Linked DNA regions of Homo sapiens: all the other regions are linked to region 1. Evidence: promoter capture Hi-C in 16 types of primary human blood cells and fetal thymus (Javierre and others, 2016). All regions are on one chromosome and are shown on one strand. The core of a region is centred on a gene start or on the middle of the fragment in contact, and the rest is flanking DNA. Distances in the headings are between cores, read along the strand shown.

Region 1 (3,571 bases), core at 370-2,869:
CCCGAGGAGCTGGGATCTCAGGTGCACGCCTCAAAGCCCAGCTAATTTTTTTATTTTTAATAGACATGGGGTTTCACCATGTTGGCCAGGCTGGTCTGGAACTCCTGGCCTCAAGTGATCTGCCTGCCTTGGCCTCCCAAAGTGCTGGGATTACAGGCATGAGCCACCGTTACCGGCCTCCACAGGCACTGAATAAAAATTATGTTTCCAAATAGGAGTTCATTGACCTTAGGGAAAATTTTTCATAAAAATAACTGTAGAATGAATTTTTTGCAAATTTATTTTTAAAAACGGTACCCCAAGCCAATGATTTTGTGGTTCCGTTTTCAATATCCTCGTTAAATTTCCCTACTGATAACAGACTCTCTCTGTGAAGATTTTTAAATTACAATGAAAATTAGAATACATAAAAATCCTTTAATATCCATAAGCATTTGCTTTGGTATGTTCATGATCAAATTAAAAATTAACTTTGAGACCTCACAGGTCGACAGCACAAGCTTCATTAACAAGAGTAACACACCATCCTAATGTCCACACAGCACAGAGGTAACTTCTCATTATTAAAAAGAACCATGGACGCATGGTTCTGAACCCTGCCTGCACTTGGCGGGAACCTGCGACACGAAAGCCTGGCCAGCCCTTGGAGCCATGCAGGGTGCGGTTAAGCCGCGAACACCATGTCCCACTTGCCTGCCTCGGGGCTTCTGCCTTCCAGACCGCAGCAGGAGGCAGAGGGGCAGGAAAGGCTGACCGGTGTCACCTTCCACCCACCCTCTGAGTGGGCCTAAGTGGGAAAGCAGCAGGGCTCACTGCAGCGCAGGCTGGTTGGCCAGCACATGCGCACGCTCCCCCGAACGGCAGGGAAGAAAAATTGAAACTCTCCTTTTAAGTTCCCTAAGTAGGAACTCGCGACTGCGCGTCAGCTTTTTCCCACGCTCCCGCCGAGCCGCGGGTTCCCTGCACCCGCCTCTGCCAGTCGAACTCCCTGGGAGCCCAGGCTCGCAGCCTCCCGCGCAGCCGCCGGGAATCCGTCCCGCAGCACCGCGGTCCAGCGCCCCCGGGCCCCGCCCCACCCCTCCCCGCCCCGCCCGCGCCCCAGGCCCCGCCCCGCCTCACCGTCTCACCATCCCCGCCTTCCCCGCCTTCCCCGCCTTCCCCGCCTTCCCCGCCTTCCCCGCCTTCCCCGCCTTCCCCGCCTTCCCCGCCTTCCCGGGATCGCCCGGCGCGTTCCAGCGCCCCCGCGCCCTCTCCACCTCCCGCTTTCCACGCGGCCCTCAGGCCCGCCTCCTCCGCCCTACCTTGGTCCGGATCTGCCCCGAGGTAGACACTTTGCGGATCAGTTTCTGGGGTCCCTCTTGCTCCGCTTCGCTGTCAGACGAATCCTCTCCCGGCCCCGCCGAGGCAGCGGCGGAGGTGACCGCGGCGCCGGCTCCGGCGGCCGCTCCTCCAGCGGCGCCCGGAGGGTGGTGCTGGCCTCCGGCCCCTGCCATCCTCTCCGACTCCTGCGGGGACACAGCACCGCCCGGCGGGGGCGGCGGCGTTGGTCAGCGGGTGGGCTCTGCCCGAGCGGAGCCCGGAACCCCGTGCCCGGCCGCCGCCGCCATCTTCCGTTTCCCTAGCTACCCCCGCGAGGTAAGGGTCGCCCGGGGCAGGCGCCCTCCAGGCAGGGGTCCACCCGGCTCCTCCGCTCGGTTCCCGCCGGAGCGGCGGCCACGGTGGGACGCAGAGGTAACGGACCCCCGCCCGCCTCGGACCCCTGCGCACCCAGCCTCGGATAGGACCAGCGCGGGTAGAGAGGATGGGGTGACAGGGTTTGGAGCAACATCTCTTCCACTCCCTTACGGTCTGGGTCCCTAGGATGGACAGGAGGGTGGGGGAGGCAGGAAACCTCTGCAGCCCACCCCGTAGTGGCGATGCCCGCACACCCCCTCTCACTTCTGGACAGCAGGGGCAACGCCGATCCCTGGGGAAGAATGGGAACCTGGAGCTTCCTCCCAGCACCCTTGGGTGCACCCGCCACCTCCTGAACCCCGAATCTCTCCAGAGACACTTGGGCCTCGCCGCGCGGTTCCAGCTGAATAAAAGTCCCCTCTGCCACCAAGACAGTCGGGGGCTGCCCCTCGTCGGTTTCCCCACCCCCAGCCCCACTCCGAGGACCGTACCTCTCCCGCCTCCGCCAGGGCCGTCGGGTCCCCTCAGCTCTCCTGACGGCGGCGTTCAGTTTCTGGCCCACCCCCACCCCCATCCGGCGCACACGGAAGAGAAGAGCATTTTCCGGGAGGTTCAGCTCCGCTCTGAGAACTTTTCGTTCAGAAAGAGCGATCCCCTTCGGCTAACAGGAAACTGGGAAGGGCGTGGAGAAAGCGCAGAAACAAGAGACTACACGCAGCCCAAGACGACAGAACGCACAAGAAGTGTCTAAGCTGAAGCGCTAACCGAGATTGCCTGGAAGAAAACAATACACTCGAGCCATGCGAACACCAGTACCCGAGACAAAAAGCCTTGGAAGTCCTGGCAGAGCCACTCCCTAGCCCGGACTAGAGCAGGAGGAAGTGGGATCAACAGGCTGTAGCCACCGCGCACAACTCCCCTGCAAGCTGGCTGCGCGGGCACTTGGGAACCGCGGACTGGCAGCGGGTTGTGCACGCTCAACGTCAAAGAAGCCTCACAGGTGTGAGGGGGCTGCGGTGAGGGGGCTGCGAGAGAAGACATTAAAACGACAGATCCCTCTTGTCATCCAAAGAGAACACCAAACTGGTGTTAGCTATATTTTTAAATAGGACAAAAAGTCCCTGCCAGACTGTGGAGTCTCTCCACCTGGAGAAAGCATTCAATCTCTGTTATGTTCATGCCTTTCAGTACCATTCCTTTCGTATTTTTTCAGTTGACATGACCTTTAAGGTTCCTCCAAACTAAGGTTCTAATTTTTTTTTTTAACTTGCAGTCTTACTCCCAACAAGAAATTTGATATATTAGAGCTAACAGTTCTAAGAAGTTTTAAGAAATAGTATGCAATCCCAATACTGGACATCACACTGTAAATTAAATTCATTAAAATGTAAAATGTGTTTAGTTCAAATATTTAAAGACAGGAGACTGCTGCTATGTAATAATAACAGAGAGGCTATTTCTGCAGCTTCTGTTGTCTCCTTTAGGAAAGGAAGGAGTTGGGCAAAATGAATTTTAAGAACGCTTAGAACTCTACAAATATGTAATTCTTTATCTACAAAGAACATATTTCTGGAAATTCTTAAAAGAGAAAAATAATCAAAATAATGGCCTTCATTCCCACCTGTTTGGTCATGGACAAGTCCAATATTTTGGAAATGTAGACAAGGACACCTAGTAAAGGGTCTTTTGAAAGAATAAACTTAGTTTAGTCTTCTCCTTTAATGTAAAGAAACTAAGGCCCCAACTGACAAACTGAGACCAAAGTCAAAATCATGCGGTTAGTATTCTAATGTTCTATTCACTTTATCACACTGTATAACAAAAGTCTGTCAGTTACCATATACTTCTATTCATACATTATGTGTTTTATATAGCAACATTTTCCAGAATCCAGGCA
Region 2 (3,571 bases), core at 283-2,782, 580 kb after region 1:
GAGTTTTAAATTCTAGAACCAACAAGTCTGGGAGGAGACTCCTAAGAAACACTGTCATTTGCACAGTCTTGATTACATCACATGAGAGAGAACAGTCTAGTCTCCAAATTTTCTTTCTCCCTGTGACTTCAGGTTTTCTGCCCCAAATTATCTGATTTCATGTTCACACTGATTAAAATCCTGAGAAATAAAAAATTCCACTGTATACTCTACAGTATTAAGACATTAGTCTTACCTATTTGTTTTGTACATTTGAGAAAGATTGTTTAGGGATAAAAGGGACAGAGAAGGGATTGAGAAGGAGAGAGGAATAAAAAAGCAAAAAACTCAAATTCCAACTAATGACCTTACCTTTCTGAGGAGTGACAGTGGCAGAGAGAAGAGCTGGGGTAGAGTCTGTTGGAGAATTCAGTTTTTCATCACTGAAGCTGAAGCTGTTCCTATAAAGTGAATCTGCACCTTTCAGGAAGGAAAATATACTCATTAGAAATAGTACTCATGAGATTATAGACTTAGCACTTTATAGTCTATTGATAACCAACAATTTGTCTTCAAAATAAGCCAAAGCTGCAACTCTATAGTAAAGAAAACAGCCAGGCATGGGGTGGCTCACGGCTGTAATCTCAGCACTTTGGGAAGCTGAAGCAGGTGGATCACCAGAGATGAGGAGTTCAAGACCAGCCTGGCCAACATGGTGAAACCCCATCTCTACTAAAAATACAAAAATTAGCCAGGCATAGTGGTGTGTGTCTGTAGCCCCAGCTACTTGGGAGGCTGAGGCAGGAGACTCGCTTGAATCTGGGAGGTGGAGTTTGCAGTGAGCCAAGATCACACCACTGCACTCCAGCCTGGGTGACAGAGTGAGACTCTGTCTCAAAAAAAAAGATTAGAAAACAGGTTGATTTCCAGGTTTTATGTTTATGCCCCCAAAATGATTCGAGACAGGGGAGAGAGGGAGTGTGTGTGTGTGAGAGAGAAAGTGTGTGTGTGTGTTTGTGTGAAAGTGTGTGTGTGTGCATGAGTGTGTGAGTGTGGGTGTGTGTGAGAATATGTGTGTGTGAGAAAGTGTGTGAGTGTATGAGTGTGTGTGAGTGTGTGTGTGAGAAAGTGTGTGAGAGTGTGTGCGTGTGTGAGTGTGGAGTGTGTGTGAGAAAATGAGAGTGTGTGTGTGAGAGCATGTGAGTGTGAGAGTGTGAGTGAGAAGTGAGAGAGTGTGTGTGTGTCAAATCAAGTATACCAAAGGCCCTTGCTTCCCCAATACAGGAAGGGGGTGATAGGATCATCATGACCAGTGCTTGGTTGATGGTGGGAGTGTGGGGGTAAGGATTTTAGGCAAAAGGAATCATCTCAAGTGAAATATGTCCCTTCTGCCCTCTGAGCCTCCTAAAATACAAACATCCAGTATCCCATGACTTAAGCCTCTTTCCCTGCTCAAGAGAGATCTTTGCTCTCTTGCTGTCCTATAATTTAATAATCCTCTCTTTTACTTAAGAGAGGTTTTCCTAAGAGTCTGTACTCTTCAGATAAGCCAGAAGGTCAAAGATAAAGACATCTTCTCCTGGAAGTTCATCTATTAGACACTTGGAGTGACATCATGGCTCCCTCTATTCTCATACCTCCAAAGACTTGAACCACAGCAAGATGAGGCCCCAGAAGTTCAAGGCTGAACTGGGAGTCAAGGGGACCATCCAGTCAACTACTAAGTACTAGGGTGCCTTTGAGCTAGTACATCTCTGGGCCTAGCTTACTTATCAATAGAATGGGAAGGCGGACTAAATAATCCTTAAAGGCACTTCTAGCTCTAAAGTTCTGAGATTCTCTAAGTCCTGCTAAGGGGAAGGAAACCAACGCACGGTTGGCCCAGCTGTGTGGCTGTGACTCAGAAAGGGGCTGCTGGCTGAGCAGCACTGACTCAAAGGGTGCAAAGGCAAGGCAGGCAGCAGAAGCAGGATGTGGCCCCTGAGGTCACGGGGAACAGCCTTCCTGGTTAAAACAAAACACAAAGCCAGCCACAGTTGGAGCAGAGAAGTGGCTCTTCAGGTGTGAGAGGGCAGCTGAATGATGGGGGCCTTACCAGGTCCCCGCCTCCTCGGGATTCTTCCACTTTAAGCCAACTACCTCCAGCTTAGGGGGAGGCAAAAACATCTCTCTTTGGTCCCATTAACTGAAAAGGAATTTGCCTAAGTGACAAGAGATAGGCCCAGTACAAAAAGTATCAGAGTTTTCGGAAGAAGAGGTTTCTAGTCTCAGGGAAATTCAGCTTTGTCCCTAAGAGGCTGCCACAACTTCTCAGGTGCCTCACCTGGCTCCCTTTCCCCCCACCCTCTCCTGCCCAGGGGCCCACCTGCCCCCTGCTCTTTTTCGCTGACACCGCCATCTTGTCCACTTTTCCAAACATGCCCAGAAGACCCTTGAGAGCAACCCTCACAATCTTTGCTTCCTTCAGAGGTCCAGCCCAGCTCACCTGAAATGACCACCATCACTGGGCTTTGAGGATGAACATGGACTGAGATCCAAAATCCTGGACCTGATACCTACACTTCCCCAAAAATACATTCCTCAGAGTGCTGGTCCTCCGAGGGCTGTGTGATCAGGTACACCTGAGAAACACCAAACAGCCTTGCTCATTCCCATGGGTATGCCCACTTCCAACATCCTGAAAAGACTTGCGGTTAAACAAAACCAGCCCCATTTCCCCAGTGTACCTGACCACGGGACACTTCTTTGTGGTGCTCCTGCTACTACTTCTCAGGACCCTTGGACTCCGTGGAACCTTACTTGGGAAGCCCTCCTGCTGGCTCCCTCAACCGAGCCCACCTCCAAAGGTGGGCTCTCCAATTCTCCCAAGGGAAGCCCTTTCCCCTACACACAGGAAGCTGGCCACACCCACTGCAGACCTGCAAGGAAGCCTTACTGTTGTCACCATGCAGTCACCAGGAGAATCGCCACAAATACAGCCTGAGAAACTCATGGGGAGAAGATAAGGCAAAATTTAGGGGCAAGAAAACCACAGAGGGTCCTGAGGAGGCAGGCCTCATGCCTAGACTCTGAGCCAGAAAATACCAGGCCCTTGGCACATTATCCGTGGCTATGAAGGATACCTGAGAGCTTCGCCCCCATCCCTGGGCCCAGAGGCTGGCTGGCCCAGATCGCAGGGACCACACCTCCGCTCTCTATCTCCCACAAGCAGCTGGCCTGGGAGAGCAACTTTCCACACCACTGCTCACTCCACCCACCCGGCATGCACCACAGGCCCTACCCTGACTTTGAACTTCAGCTCTCTTCTGCCCCTACTCTCCAGCAAGTTTCCATCCACGTACACTCCTCTGCAGGGGAGAAAGACACCACAATTTGTTCACCTCACAGGCAAGGAGGCCAAACGCTATTGAATGTTGGAAGAAGGAACAATCTAGATATGGAAAGGCCATTACAAAAGAGGATGTTAGCAGGGGAAAAAAGGAATCCAGCAAAGATTCAGGAAAGACTCAGCATAACTCATGGGGCCTGGAGAGAATCTGTAGAGAATGAGCCGTAGATCCAGAATATTGCCAGGACTGTCCTCTGATCCTTT
Region 3 (3,571 bases), core at 298-2,797, 560 kb after region 1:
CAAACAATCTAGACGGATCTGGAAGACTCTGAGAAAGTGATGCTTGAGCTGATCCTAAAGAAGTAGAATTAACTAGAAAAACCGAGCAGAGTGGACATTCCAGGCAGAGGGAACTGAGTGTGCAAAGGCCCTGCAATGGAGCCACCTAACGCTGCCATTGTGGATAGTCATACTCCTTAACCTTCAGTAGACCCTGAACTTGAAGGAAAATGTTCCCTTCTAAAAATGTGTTTCCCTTTCCCTTTCCCTTCCATTCACCCCAGCACTTGATACCAAGCCATGAAGAGAAGGTGAGTTGTGCAGGAGAAAGCCTTAAAAAAAAACAAAACTTGCAGACAGCAGCTATGACAGCCGTTTCCTGTTTGGTGTCTGTCACTGCAAACCTTCTTAGTCAAATAAATTAACACAGGAAGGCATTTTGGAGAAGTACGTGCTTCTTGCACATACTGAAAATTCAAGAAAAATTCCATCTATTTTTCAGAGAAGAGCTGGCAGTCTGAGGATAAGGCCAGAGCCCACCAACTGTATGAACTGAACAGACCCCAGGCCATTTAGTCCGATTAACTTGGAGGAATCTGAGGCCCAGAGAGGGGAAGGGATCCAGTTCACAGCAGGACTGGGGCTTTCACCCTCTCTCCTGCCCCTTTGCCCAGTGTTTTTTCTCTGCCTTCCTCGCTGTGATTGCATTAGGCCAGATTTGCCACTTTCTTCTATCAGACAAGGAATAATGGGGCTAGAACTGCCCTCTGCAGCCACTGTAGGCAAAGCTTAATTTTACCTTGGGTACAGGAGCCCAATGTCCTTGTGGTATGAAAAGGAGGAGGAGGAGTGCCAGACACTTTTTCTTTTCTATATTTGATCATTGCAATGACCCTAGGAGACAGTGACTCACACCTACACTTTACAAATGAGGAAACAGAGCCTCTGAGAGGTTAAAGAGCTTGCTCAAGGTCACCCAGCTACTACAAGGCAGAGCTGGGATTTGAACCCTGTCTAGCCTGAAAGCTCATACTTTCTCCTCCTTTCCTCAGCCCAGACCCAGGGGGATGTTCCCATGGAGAAGCCTCCTCAGGATTCCCAACCTTGACTAATTGCCAATGGCCGCCCTTCTACTGCTCCTCATTTCAGACATGCCTCTCACATGTGGAACATGCAATGTAGCCTACCTCTGTCATGATCCCCCAGGGAAAAGGTATTCATTGGTTCTTCTGTCCCATTCTGGAGGCTGGCTGGTGTATAAATATTTGGGCTGGCACTAGAGCCTCTTACTCTTGGGTGTGTGCAGTATTTGTCATTTTGTTTTGCTCTAACTGTTCCTCCCTGAAATTAGAACAGAGAATTTCCAAACTCAAAAACATACCAGCTTTGCATGCACAATATTCTACCAGCTTCCCATATACAATATCCAGTCTCGTTCTGTTCCAGAAAAGCCCACTAGCTGACACTCTCCAAATAATAATCAGGCAGTTTGCAAGGCCATGGTCTCAGCACTCAGATCTTGGAGGAAGGGGAGTGCAATAGACCCCGCTGACTTGAGGTTACCTATAAAAGCATTTCCCAAGGCATGTTCCAAGGAACACTAATGACTCTGGATTATTGGTAGCTTTTTCATCAACAAACAAAACAAAAACCAAAAACAGACCAAATCTCTTAGCTGCAGGATTTCTCAAAGCCTTCAATATGCTGTGGCAGAGATAACTAGTTGTTCTCCAATAGTCATTCTCTTCCTCTTTCTTTAATAATAAAACTCTTAAATTTTAGCTGAACACATATATGCCAGCTAGATGCTTTTTCCTGGCCTCCCTTTCAGCTGGGAATGAGGATGTAAGATCTGAATAAGGGGATGTGAGCAGAAGTGAGGTGTCTCTTCTAGTCATGTTGTTTAAAGAAATAAGCCTATGTTTGACTTGCCATTTCTCCTTTCTGCTGGCTGGGATGTAAATGTGATGACAAGAGCAGGAGCAGCCACTTTGGACCAGAAAGCCACCTACTCAGCCTTGTACTAATCATCTCTGGATTGTTAGAAAGAAACTTCCATCTTGTTTGAGCCACTGTATCTTGGGGTCTTTGATCCAGAACTTAGACTGGCCCCTAAGTAATATAAGCACTAATATGCATAATGAATCTCCAAGTGGAGCCTATAGCATGCAGCATTTCTCAAGCACATATGACCTTAACAGCAATTTTTGCAAAACGAGTTAGGACTGTTCTCCTTGAAACATATCTTGGGAAACTCTGAAAATACTTTTTTCAACATTCCCAGAACTCCAAACTGTGACTGAGTCCACAGCCCATTTGCCCTTAAGTCATTATCCAAAAGAAGCTTATGGAGTACAAACTACCCGCGCCCCCTCCCCCACTCCACACACACACACACACACACACACACACACACACACACACACTCTCTCTCTCTCTCTCTCTCTCTCACACACACACACTTATGTAAAGAGATCCATTTCTTTTCCCAAAACCACTGACTTTCTCTTCACAACAAGCCACAAAGCTTCACACCTTACACTTCTGACTTGGGGAGTCCAGATCCCAGGAGCTCGTGAAGAAACAGCAGCCAAACACAGTTAGATCTTCCATTCCAGAAGAGACTAATAATAAAAGTTACAGTGAAAATGAACAGCTGCTGGTGCCATGATGAAAAAAAAATTGCCCAAAGCAGATACAGGTTCCCAAGCATGAATAAGAACCAGATCCAGGTAATGGAAAAATTAAGTTTTGAAAACAAGTCAAGAGCTTATTTGGCTAACAAAGAAAATATTCCCACAACTAACATATTTGATGGTGAAAGTCTGAAAGTTTTTCCTCTAAGATCAGGAACAGAATGAGGATGTGTCACCTCACCACTTCTTTTTAATACTGTACTGGAAGTTCTAACTAGGTTAAGAAGGGAAGAGGAAGAAATAAAAGGCATTCAGACTGTAAAAGAAGAAGTAAAATTATTCCTATTCACAAATAATATGATGTGTATAGAATCCACACATCCACCCTCGCAAAAAAAAAACTTATTAGAATTAATATCGAATTAATAAATATGTACAGCAAGGGTACAGAATACAACATCAGTATACAAAAATAAATGGTATTTCTATGCTAGCAATGAAAAATCTGAAAATAAAGTTAAGAAAACTCTTCCATTTAAAATAGCATCAAAAAAGGAATGAATTTAACCAAAAGTATGCAAAAATTATACTGTGAAAACTACAAAACATAGTTGAAAAAAATTAAAGACCAAAATTAATTTAAAGACCTAAATAAATTTCTTGCTCATGAATTGCAAGGAAGACTTAATATTGTTAAGATGGCAATACTCACAAAACTGATCTATAAATTCAATGCAATCTCTGTGAAAAATCCTATCTACCTTTTTTGCATAAATTAATAAACTGATACTGAAATTAATATGGAGGCCAGGTGTGGCAGCTCATGCCTTTAATCCCAACACTTCGGGAGGCCAAGGTGGGAGGCTCGCTCAAGGCCAGGAGTTTGAGACCAGCCTGGGCAACAAAGCAAGACCCCCATCTCTACGAAAATCAAATAAAATAAATAAGTTAAGTAA

The links. Contacts are between HindIII fragments. The CHiCAGO score rates a contact against its expected background, and 5 or more counts as called.
Region 2: a fragment that was not itself captured here is called in contact with the fragment with the promoter of DGKH in region 1 in 2 of 17 cell types (fetal thymus and M1 macrophages); the score reaches 7.7 in fetal thymus.
Region 3: a contact is called between a fragment that was not itself captured here and the fragment with the promoter of DGKH in region 1, in 2 of 17 cell types (M0 macrophages and fetal thymus). The highest score is 5.3, in M0 macrophages.

What each region holds. Positions count from the first base shown.
Region 1 is chr13:42,046,696-42,050,266 of GRCh38, reverse strand. It overlaps DGKH (diacylglycerol kinase eta), which reads right to left and starts at 1,619. Exons shown (of 30, transcript NM_178009.5): 1 at 1,302-1,619. The coding sequence starts at 1,493. RefSeq lists a silencer at 1,313-1,842 and an enhancer at 2,383-2,472. The HindIII fragment of the contact is 8,345 bases long and covers 503-3,571 here.
Region 2 is chr13:41,463,711-41,467,281 of GRCh38, reverse strand. It overlaps RGCC (regulator of cell cycle), which reads right to left. Exons shown (of 5, transcript NM_014059.3): 3 at 352-459. Among named protein-coding and RNA genes, the nearest start is that of RGCC, 7.9 kb to the right of the region's middle. RefSeq lists an enhancer at 1,811-2,070 and a silencer at 2,564-2,778. The HindIII fragment of the contact is 7,241 bases long and covers 1-3,571 here.
Region 3 is chr13:41,489,871-41,493,441 of GRCh38, reverse strand. No RefSeq gene overlaps it. Among named protein-coding and RNA genes, the nearest start is that of RGCC, 34 kb to the right of the region's middle. The HindIII fragment of the contact is 1,556 bases long and covers 770-2,325 here.